Linked DNA regions of Homo sapiens: regions 1 and 3 are each linked to region 2. The links are contacts of gene promoters, found by promoter capture Hi-C in human tissues and cell types (Jung and others, 2019). All regions are on one chromosome and are shown on one strand. The core of a region is centred on a gene start or on the middle of the fragment in contact, and the rest is flanking DNA. Distances in the headings are between cores, read along the strand shown.

Evidence for each region. Contacts are between HindIII fragments. The study calls those that stand out against the background at their distance.
Region 1: a contact is called between the fragment with the promoter of TMEM106C here and the fragment with the promoter of COL2A1 in region 2, in 1 of the 25 tissues and cell types used here (pancreas).
Region 3: a contact is called between a fragment that was not itself captured here and the fragment with the promoter of COL2A1 in region 2, in 1 of the 25 tissues and cell types used here (pancreas).

The regions. Positions count from the first base shown.
Region 1 is chr12:47,961,717-47,965,478 of GRCh38, reverse strand. TMEM106C (transmembrane protein 106C) reads right to left here and starts at 1,883. Exons shown (of 8, transcript NM_001143842.2): 1 at 1,775-1,883; 2 at 1,056-1,270; 3 at 134-197. The coding sequence starts at 1,242. The HindIII fragment of the contact is 8,708 bases long and covers 1-3,762 here.
Region 2 is chr12:48,002,523-48,006,327 of GRCh38, reverse strand. COL2A1 (collagen type II alpha 1 chain) reads left to right here and starts at 1,852. Exons shown (of 54, transcript NM_001844.5): 1 at 1,852-2,091. The coding sequence starts at 2,007. The HindIII fragment of the contact is 28,746 bases long and covers 1-3,805 here.
Region 3 is chr12:48,048,812-48,052,406 of GRCh38, reverse strand. SENP1 (SUMO specific peptidase 1) reads left to right here. Exons shown (of 18, transcript NM_001267594.2): 14 at 3,275-3,478. Among named protein-coding and RNA genes, the nearest start is that of COL2A1, 46 kb to the right of the region's middle. The HindIII fragment of the contact is 3,952 bases long and covers 1-3,443 here.

The DNA of each region.
Region 1 (3,762 bases), core at 634-3,133, 41 kb after region 2:
GCAAACAGTTATAAGGAAAATGGGGAACTTATAAGAACATGTGTAGTTTTCAAAGAATTAACTGGCATTCATACATACAGAAAGAGATTAGGGACAGAAGTAGGTATTAACAGGTGAGAAGCAGGTAACTCACGTTCGCTGAGGGCGCAATCTCTGATCACTGTGTGGGATCAAAGCCACCAACTCATTTACTTGCTCTAGAAAAGAGCCAAACAATTATTTTGTAAATCCCATGTGTTGGCAGTACTTCCTTCACGTCTCACTTGAGCCTGCCACAACAAATATTCTTCTGGAATGAGACATTTTAAAAAATACTAGTGAAATTCACATGTTGGGTCTAATGAACAAGAAACAAGAGAGTGCCACAAATTATAAAACATCTATCAGTGCTGCCAGGGTAGTGATGTGGAAGTTGAAAAACCTGGGATCCTGTTCTGGCTTTACTGCATGGGCTTGGCAGAGTCGTCGAATCTCTCAAGGCCATGGTTTCCTTGCCTTTCATATGGAAGCTTTGGAGTAAATGATTTTGAAGGTCCTAACCAGCTCTAAATTTCTGTGACTCTCCAGCTAAACTGTTAAAGACTTTCTGAGGGCCAATTTGTTAATAGTAATAGATGATCCTGTACCAAGGCTAAGTATTTGTCTCTCTCTCTTGACCTGATATATTTTTCTGACCTTAGGCTGTTAAGGATTAGCTACCCATTTCCTTGAAAAGCAGCTTCCAAGATGGTTCCCCCGCAAAGCTGTCCCAATCCTTGTGACAGCGATAAAGAAATGTGCCTGTCAACAAATCCCACAACACAGAGCGAACTGAATGTTCCAAACCTCAGGAAAAGAACAAGAGTGGCGGTAAAGAAAAGAAAGGGTTGGAAAAATAAGGAGAGGAAGAGAAGTTGCAGAACTGCCCAAGTGTATTAAGTCAGTTGAGCTGGCTCCTGTCCAGGGCACTGTCTCTATTATGGTATTACTGCCTAGAAGAAAAGTTGTCTGGGCAGACAGGAGAACTCCGAGGGTACCTTGGGATTCTCATCAGGGAATCATCCCTCCATGATCACCTGTTGGAATGTAGCCTGTCCCCTGGCACGTGAGACAGGTGATGCTATCTCTCCCGGTGAATTCCACATATGGGAACTGAGCAATGGCTTCTTCCTGCTCTCGTTCAGCCAGCAAACCGTCCCTGTCATCTTCTTGCTTTCGCCTGCAGGAGGAGGGGCGAGCAGCAGCGGAATGCTGAGACCCCATGGCCGTGATATGCCACTGGTGTCATGTCCTAAGATGAAAAGAGGGAGTGCACGTTAGCGGCCCCAGTGAATCACGACAGAAATCGCTTGTTTCTATAAGAAAATTAAAAACGCAAAAATGACAAGTTGCCGCCCTGAGTGTGGTCCCAACACCTGTACGATTTCTATCGGGACCCTCATTTTGTAGTAGTGCTACCCACTCTCCTCTTACCCGCCACACACAGCCGGCGGGGGTGGGGAGGGGGAACGGGGCCTGCCTTTCACGCACCTGCCTCGATCCTCACCGCCCTGGGACTTGGGGCACCCCCGCTCCCACCTGGTCCAGCCTCGCCCCTTCCTCTTCACTATTTGTAAGCTCTATGCCCCTCCTCGAGCAACAAACAGGCACCAAATTGATAACCGGCCTTAACGATTCCCATTCCTCTCCACCCCCCAGCCCCAGGAGGCGGGCTCAGGTCACGCCCCTTGGCAAAAAGCGATGCTCTGAGCCCACCAAAGTGGCCCAGGCAGGAGCGAACGCCAGCGTCGCAGACCTGCAGGGCACGAACTCCCGGCAGCTCCTCTCCGGCCGCTCCCCCGACCACCTGCCAGCTTGAGGACTTACCAGCCTCTTCGGTCGGCGGAGCGGCACGCACTCAGCGCGCAGGCGCCAAATACCAAGCCCGCCAGGAGAACGCGGGCGCGCGCTCGCGCGTGCGCTCTTCGCGGCTCCGGAGGCCTTCCCAATATCGCAGCTGTCTGGCTCCCTCGGTTCCGGTAGAGGGCGGCAGAGAGCGCCGGGGAGCCGCGACCCTTGCTGTTGGGCCGCGGTAGTCCGCGGAGTCGGGATGATGCTCTGCTGTTCGCTAGATAGGCTGGGAAAGGCTCCAGTCAAGTTTCCAGAGCAAAACACTTCTCTGCTGCGAGAGGAGGAAGGTGCTGCCGGCTACCGAAGCCATTCTGAAATATTCTTTATAGTACAGGAGCTGTGTAGTCGCTGAGGGTACACACATGCGGAGCATTCGGATAAACTGCCTTTGCAAAAATTGTAAGTGAGAAAATTATGACAGTGAAAGAGATCTGACTTACCCAGTTCCGTCTTGCTTCTAACCTCCGAACTGCCCTTGTTCATTCCTGGGTATAGGCCAAACTAACTTTGGGAGGAATTTAGTTTATAGTTGAACTTCGAAGCAAAGATAACAGCCCTTCCCCAAAACAAACCCCCTTCTTGCCTGGGGACCAGACTGCCTTTGTAAGACTAACAAATTAGCCACAAGATTAGAAATTATGGTTTAGGAGTCATCCAGACAGAGGTCACAAGATTCCAAACCTTCCCTATTGCTCCAAGGGATAACATCACTATTGTAAAATCTAAGATCGGTGCTGGGGATATTTTTCAGACCCTGCATTCTGAGGCACCAGCTGGCAGTACCTAGACCAGTTATCTGGCTCAGCCAGTTCTGCAATCCCACCCAGGAACAGAAAACAGCAAGAAGAACCCACTTAGACCCCCCTATGATTTCATCTCCAACCTGACCAATCAGCACTCCCCACTGCCTGATACCTACCAGCCGAATTATCCTTAAAAAACCCCAGTCTCTGAATTATCGGGGAGACTTATTTGAGTGATAAAACTCTGGTATCTCATTCAGCCGGCTCTGCATGAATTAAAATCTCCATTGCAATTCCCCTGTCTTGATGAATCAGCTCTGGGCAACGGGCAAGGAGAACCCGTCCGGCAATTATATCAGAACCTGTCTTCAGTCCAGGAGGGGAACCCAGAGGCTTCATCAGACCCCTCCAATACTGTAGATAAAAGTGCTGCTGGAAGTCTCACAAGTCAGAGGGGCCCAGCCTGGGGGAAACCTTCCATGGGGAGTCCTGCTGGCTTCTCGCAGGAACGGACCCCACAGCTGAGCTTTGCAAGCCAATTAGGTGCCAAGAGGCACCAAGGAGTAGATTCATTCGGTAGTAGGGCCCCCCCTTCCCCAGACCTCCACAAAAAAGGCACGTACGTAAGAGGTTAGAAAGCACTTTTCGTTCGTTTGTTTGTTTGTTCGTTTGTTTTGAGATGGAGTCTTGCTCTGTCGACCAGGCTGGAGTACAGTGGCACAGTCTCAGCTCACTGCAACCTCCGCCTCCCGGGTTCAAGCGATTCTCCTGCCTCAGCCTCACAAGTAGCTGGGATTACAGGCGCACACCTCCACACCTGGCTAATTTTTGTATTTTTAGTGGAGACCGGGTCTCACCATGTTGACCAGGCTGGCCTCAAACCCCTGACCTCAGGTGATCTGCCCACCTTGGCCTCTCAAAGTGCTGGGATTACAGGCGTGAGCCACTGTGCCCGGCCTAGAGGGTACTTTTTAATGGGTGGGTTTCTTTGTTCATACTGCCAGGTTGAGCTTAGCCTGCAGCAGCAGGAGTTGAGTACAGACATTAACCAGGTGAAATTATTAAAGATGATGCTAGGGGAGAGGAGATATTCTGAAATGGGATGAATAAGGGGCCCACTTGGCAATAGAGAGTGAGGCTGAGGCTGGTG
Region 2 (3,805 bases), core at 603-3,102:
ATTCAGAAAGCCAGGGAGACGTTGTGTTCTAGAGATATCAGAGAAGGCTTCTCAGAGGGGCTTTAACCTAGGAGGTCTTGATAAATGTGTGGAATTTGGTCATTCTATCTTCCAGGTAGAGAATATAGGACCTTCTGAGCCCCAAAGAGGACATGGGGCACTGATGGCAAGAGACCAGCTTTCTTCTAGCAGAGATTGGGCCTGAGGAAGAGCCCAGAGCTTAATGCAAGCCCCTGAATGGGAGCATGGAGACTCAGACAAGGCCCGTGGAAGGTAGGGGAGATGCTGGAAACTGGTTGAATTCTTCCCCATCTCCATCCAGACTGGACAAAGCCTAGAAGCATTTCCTTCAACAATGAGTTCTTTCCCTTTCCAACCAGAGCACTTGGAACTCCAGCCTCTACCAGGACAAGTGTCAAAGCATGATAGGCTAGGGATGGGGTCCCAGGACCCCTGGTGGAAGCCTAAGGCCCAGAAGTAGCTTCTTTCAAGTGCTCTCAGCTTCTAGGGGGAAAGCTCCAGAGAAACAAAACTGCCCAGGAGGGCAGAAGTTCTGGTTAAGTCAGACCCCAAATTCTGAGTTTCATTTTGCCTATAGTTCTTTGGGGGACCATATCGCTCAAAAGGAAGGTCTGTTTGGGGACGTTTCCTCCCTGGTATGAAAGGAGGCACCGGAGACCAAGAGAAGAGACCAGCTAAGCCCTGGGAAGAAGGCAGTTTGGCTAAGGTGAGAGAGGGCGCTCACCGGGGAAGGTGAGGTGAGGCGGCAAGCGGAGGGCTAGGGGGCCGACTGGGAAATTCTGGCGCTTCTCCCCGGCTCACAGAACTCGCCAGCTGGATCGGCCTCCCCGATCCCTGGCCAGGGCCGCAGCAGTGACCAACCGTCCCTGGCCAAAGCTGCTCTACGACGGCCGGCAGTGCCCACTCCCCGGGGGACTCCCGGACCCCAGCCAGGAAGAGCAGACACCACGTCTGAGCCTGGAGCTAGACAGTCCCCCCACAGCAGGCAGCTTGCACCGTTTAGTCTCGGCTCCCTCCGTCCTCTGTGGCTCTTTCAGTCCCCTTCCCAGGGCCTGCCCCTGCCCCCCACACCTTCACACAGGTCTCCTTCTGTGCAGTAACACACCAGCTCTTTTCCTGGCTGTCGGCTCAGGCCAACTTCGGCCTGTGCTCCAGAGGAAGCCTTCAACGCAGAGCTGGATGGGGGAGGGGTGGAGGGCAGTCGCTGTGAACGTCCAGGTGGGAGTCTGGGGACCAGGTACTGCAGGGAAGGGCTAAAAGATAGGTCGGGGTAACCCTTCAGATCTGGCTCAGCTAGCCTGTCTCCAAGATTTAGGACTCTGAATCTCTGTGGGCTCCTCCCTGTCCCCACTCCCAAACGCCTGACGCGGTGCCCCCTCGCCCTCCGCTGCTCCTTTCTACCGCTTTCCCTCCTCCCTCCCATGTCTTTTCCGTCCTTGGTCTAGGGCTCTCGGCCTGCGCCTCTGCAAACACCCCCTCCCCTCCAACTCCGGCAGAACTCCGAGGGGAGGGGCCGGAGGCCACCCTTCCCGCCTGTGGTCAGAGGGGGGCAGCGCCGCAGCCCCGGGTTTGGGGGGCAGGGGCCATCTCTGCGCCCCGCCCGATCAGGCCACTCGGCGCACTAGGGGTGGAGGGCGGGAAGCGTGACTCCCAGAGAGGGGGGTCCGGCTTGGGCAGGTGCGGGCACTGGCAGGGCCCAGGCGGGCTCCGGGGGCGGGCGGTTCAGGTTACAGCCCAGCGGGGGGCAGGGGGCGGCCCGCGGTTTGGGCGAGTTCGCCAGCCTCGAAAGGGGCCGGGCGCATATAACGGGCGCCGCGGCGGGGAGAAGACGCAGAGCGCTGCTGGGCTGCCGGGTCTCCCGCTTCCCCCTCCTGCTCCAAGGGCCTCCTGCATGAGGGCGCGGTAGAGACCCGGACCCGCGCCGTGCTCCTGCCGTTTCGCTGCGCTCCGCCCGGGCCCGGCTCAGCCAGGCCCCGCGGTGAGCCATGATTCGCCTCGGGGCTCCCCAGACGCTGGTGCTGCTGACGCTGCTCGTCGCCGCTGTCCTTCGGTGTCAGGGCCAGGATGTCCGTAAGTCTTCCCCCGCCCCTGCCTGCCTGCCTGCTTTCCATGCGTCCCTCAGCATCCTTCTCCCCGGCCCGCTCCAGCTCTGGAGCCCGCGGCTCCGGGCTAAAACGGCTCCCGGGGTCGTAGCGCGCCGACTTAGGCACAGGACACGCAGAAGTTCACCAAGAAGAGTTCTGCCAATCAAGGACTCTGTCCCAGGGTCCTCGGTGCCCATCGCAGTTGCAAGTATTTGCAGGTCCCTACGTTGCGCTAGAATACTGAACTTGCAAAGTGTTGGCTCGGAGAAGTTTGCGCACAGATATAAATGGGCTCTTTTCCACCAGCTTTGATAATTAGGCGCACATGCACACAGCTCGCCTCTTCGAAGCACTTCGAGTTCAGCAAAAACAGATCTCAACTCATCGAACTTAGGTGAAGTAGGAAAGAGAGAGCGCGAGCGAGGGAGCAAGCAAACGCCAAAGGGTTGACTTCACAGCCTGTCCAAGGCTTGGTGGCTGGTGGGCTCAAAGCAGAGTTAGACAAAGGGGACTAACACTCTGACACTGGTGGGCTGAAATCCCAGGCCACAAAGAACGGCTTCCGATAGGCCCTCTGAGACCTCAGCGCCTCTTTAGGGTACCCTCCCCCTCCCAGCTGGCCCTGGAGCAAGGTGCAGCCCTAGCGCTCATCTCGACTTCCCTCCGTCCGCCTGCGCCTCTCTTCTGATAAAGGGTACAGAAACTTCCAGTAGGAGAGGCCATCTGAAAGACGATAACATTCCAACCAGACCGTGCTTTTCAAATGCCCCCGAAAATAGCGCCCCCTTCCCCGCGGTCTTACCCCATTCCCCGCCGCCCCGAGGTACTACAATGAGTTACTTTTCTAAATTCTGGAACTCACCGAGCCAGGCTGCGTGGTGTGTGTGTGTGTGCGTGTGTGTGTGTGTATGTGTGTGTCAGGGAAGGGGAGCAGGCTGGTCGATTGCTACGGTTGCTACAACTATTTCAACCGGTATAGTTAGAGATGGCTCTTGTAGTCGGGTCCAAATGCTGTTCGGACTGCACCTTTCTACCCCTCCTTTGGTAAGGTCCACTGTCTGGGATTATATTCAGGACAAACGAAGCCTGGAAAGTGTATTAGGTAGAGAGGATTTTTTTTTCCACGTGTTTGGGCACGTTTCCGACGGCTGGGATTCCAGCCCTGTCTTTGTATGTTACAGATTGTAAATCAATCGCAGAGGGAAACTCTTCGGCGGGGGGAATAAAAGTTCTCTGCCTTCGAGGCTCTGTGGGCCCTCTCCTGCCACCAGGCTGTTTCCAGGGATAGCGTGGAAGGCGGCGGGCTCAGGCGGGCTTTCCGGTCATTAGCGCAGCGGGGGCAGGGCTGGAGCCTGCGGCGCAGCTGCGAGGAGCCGGGAGCAGGAGACTCTGGCCGGGTCACCCGGTAGTGCGCTAAGCTGGAGGCGCGCTCCTGGGCATTTGAGGAATACAGCGTGACTATACGTGGCCTGGACTCAGACTGACTATATTTTTGTACTACATTTACAAGCACACGCCCACAAAGCTGTCTTCTTGACTGACCCCTGCCTTAGTGCGCAATGGAATTAGCTGGGTGGCTTTAAAATAATTCTCAAATTCTCCATCCGGTATTAGGGTCGCTTGCTTAATTAGGCGGTAGAGCTCTCTCATCGCCGCATCTTTCCTGGGAGGGAGTGATTCCACAGCTTCTCCGGCCCAAA
Region 3 (3,595 bases), core at 218-2,717, 46 kb before region 2:
GTATTGTCATGCCCAGGCCTTTTAGAACATTTTTTCTCAAGCTAATTAGAAGAGTTCAAACTATAAGCATGAGAATGGCTAAAAATCAAGACTTTACTGGTAGTGAAATGTTTTATTTCTAAAAACATGAGAAAACAATAGTTTGGCTGGTTTACTGGGGAAGAAGGAAGATACAAATAGCATTGGTCGTTTATGTCATTGTGGTAATGTACAGGAAAAAGATTGAATCCTTAGTTTGAAAACATTGTAGGCTTTTCTCTGAAAGAAAAGCTTTTTTCAGCTTCAGCCTGGCAGCTCTTCAAATAAAATCTCAAAGGAACAAGGCACTATAAACAACCCACCCATCCCTAAACATGACTGCATAGACAAGTAGATGCTTATGGCCAAGGCTGCAAAGGCAGCAGGAAGGGTAGCTCCTTAAGCACCAAGAGCCACAGTGAGCAAATAGAGGCAAGTGTGGGTCCCAGAAAAGGTGACAGGTGGACTAATGTTGACAGTTAGTCCTCAGATTGTGGTATATTGGTGAGACAAATAGCAAGCACAGGACTCATCTACTTTTAGCTCATTTCAAAGGGAATTTAGGATCTGCTGGTGCTAAGAGAGTCTTGTTTGAGGAAAGGGCTGTTGCCAACTTGGCGTCGGGGACAGTTGTCTTCACAAAAGTCAAGCAAATGCTGTGACCATCACTGCTCCTCTTTCATCTTGAACACTGTGATCCCTTCTCTCATTTCTTTTTCCTTCATCTTCAGCCCTCCTCTGTGAGATGACATGTAGGACTTTTTTGTTCTCTCTTAGCTCATTTTTTTGGTTTAATTGTGTCTTGGCTGAACTATGGCAATTTTCCTCATTTGGATGGTGTAATAGCTAAAAAAATTGAGGAGAAAGACTTGAATCCAGATTCTGCCTTGGATGTCAGATTTACATTCTCAGCTAATGTGGGGAGCATTGAGGTCACCAAACTCCCTTCTACTGGGATCTAGGGGAAATGAAAAAGAACCCAGATCATTCCTTAGAGCTAATTAACTAGTTGACTTTGGAGGCCATTTTCCTCTCAGTTGAGAAACTTTGGTTGGGTGCAGCAATGGAAGAGGAATTCTCAAAGGGAACAGATACCATGGTGTCTGATGACTGGGGTTCTCTGTTCTTGTTCAGCTGTGTTGGTCTTTAGCTTTCTAGTGAACCCTCTGAAGGTGAAAAAACAAGCAAAACTCAGGCTGTGTAAGTCCAGCTAAGCTTCCTTGGTTTCTGGAACTCTTTCCTCTTGAAAAATAGAATAGTGATGTATAGCATGACACTCATTTATGTCATTCTTTTTTTTTTTTTTCACTTCAGACTTACGATTCCAGAGGTAATCTCTGATAGGCACCTAGGGGAGATGTATTTCCATGGCTGTCATGTGCTTCACCGTCCTTATCTCTCTGCCTGATTCCTTTCACCTCCTGCTTCAGTCCTTATTTCTTGTTGGAATATATAAGCTGTCTGCCCCTATGGAAGGTTTCGCTTACAGTAACTGGCAGATCATCTGCTTATGTCTTGGATTGAAGGGTTTACCCTATAACATGGCCAACATTATAAGATGGGTAGAAGGCCAGAGGAATCAGTGAATTCCTTCTTGCCAATTTTTCCTCATTAGAGAACATAGTTTACAGCCTAGAAATCTGTACTTGCTGGGAAGATCCTACTGCATTTATGGCTGCCTTCGGAAACCTAGAGGCAGTCTTTAGCACCATTATCCTGAGGGGCAGAGTTAGACTGAAAACTTATAGTTAAGAAATACCTGATTCTAATTGTGTCTTGATTAATTATTATCTGTAACAACTGATCTCCAGTTATCTATTGGGCATCACACTAGGCAGAGAATAAGCCACAACCTGAGTCCTTTGGGCTGACTGGGCCTGTTGCTCAGTCATCAGCTGCAGAGAAAACAGTGTCTTTCTTCAGTCCTAGCCTTCCCCTACCTCAGAGCTCTGCCTCATGGCGAGTGTGGTTTTCCCGCAGCTGCCTAGGCATCCTCATCTATAGGCCCTTTCTCTGGTCTAGACCGTGCTCCGGTGTGTTCCTGGCAGTGTTCCCCTGCTGCCTACCCAGTATGTCGTTGCTTACTGTTGGGCAGTAGCTCACTGTTCTGGCATCCTGGTGTGTAAATATTTGTCAAAGAACAGGGGCATTTTCCCATTCCCCAAAAAGCATTCTGAAAAATGTGCCTGTTTTCTTAGTCATATTTCCAAGCCGTGGATCAGTTAGCCCATTCATTCCTTGCAGTTGACAGACACTGGCCTGACCTCAGCTGGCCACATAAAGTAAGTATGCAGTAACTTCCGGCACGATAACTTTCAAGTTTTAGTACCAAAGAGTCCTGGACCTAATGGAACCATACACAACATAGTCACTATTAGAGAAGATGTCGTTTCATTAACAAAGAATCACACATCTCCCCACTCAGCCATTGTAATTTCTTTCCACACTTAATATTGAAGGCATAAATGGAATCAACAAAGATGAGAAAGCTAACCATATAGATTCTGGGGTAGAACGTTATTCTTCATGTTTGTGACTTGACTTTAGGTCTCATATAAGGTAGGTTTTTATACTTCCATGTGTGCCTTTATATAAAGGTGACATTGCTGAGCTACTATCAGTTTACAGGTGTTTTTCCAGTATAATTAATGGCTTCTCCTGTCACTTAGTTCTACTTGAGACCAAAAGAGTTTGCCTCTGCAGGATGGGTTATTAAGTTGAAAAGGCAGTCTTTAACCATGGAGCAGAGTTTTCCATCTTTGTGTAAAACCATGTGGCTGTCATATAAAATTTGAGTTCTTGATTTTAACTTGACTAACACTAGGCGCTAACTGAGCTCAGTATCTACTTAAATTGCTCACACAGTTCCAGTAGATAAAGGTAACTGCTAATGTGCATTATTAAACTGCTTGCATGCCTTCCTCTCCTTTTCTGTAAGCCTCACCTTAACACCCCTGTCTTCCTGCAGTCTTTTGACCTAACCTTCAGTCTTCTACAAGCCTGGCCAGCGTCTGCCCATTTGTACTCCCAACCCCATAATATATATGTCAGCTTTTTCTCTTTTCACCATTTATAGCACTTCAGCCTTCCCCCTTCTAGTCAGAATTTGATTTAGAGAAATGAATCTGTTGGATGTTGAAGACTTAATTCAGTTTATTAGGAAACAATTACATATGCTATTCAACACAGCAACTGCAACTATTTTGAAAGGCTAGGCCTGAGTGTCTATTCTAATAGGTGTAATTTCTTCCCACAGATCATCAATTTCTACATGAATATGCTGATGGAGCGAAGTAAAGAGAAGGGCTTGCCAAGTGTGCATGCATTTAATACCTTTTTCTTCACTAAATTAAAAACGGCTGGTTATCAGGCAGTGAAACGTTGGACAAAGAAAGTAGATGTATTTTCTGTTGACATTCTTTTGGTGCCCATTCACCTGGGAGTACACTGGTGTCTAGCTGTGAGTACCCCTTTCATTTTTGATAAAATGTAAAAGCTATGTACTTATAGAACACACAGAGGGTAGTGAGTAGTAGTTCTACATGTTCCCTTGATTATTGAGAGAAAGAGTGTTTAG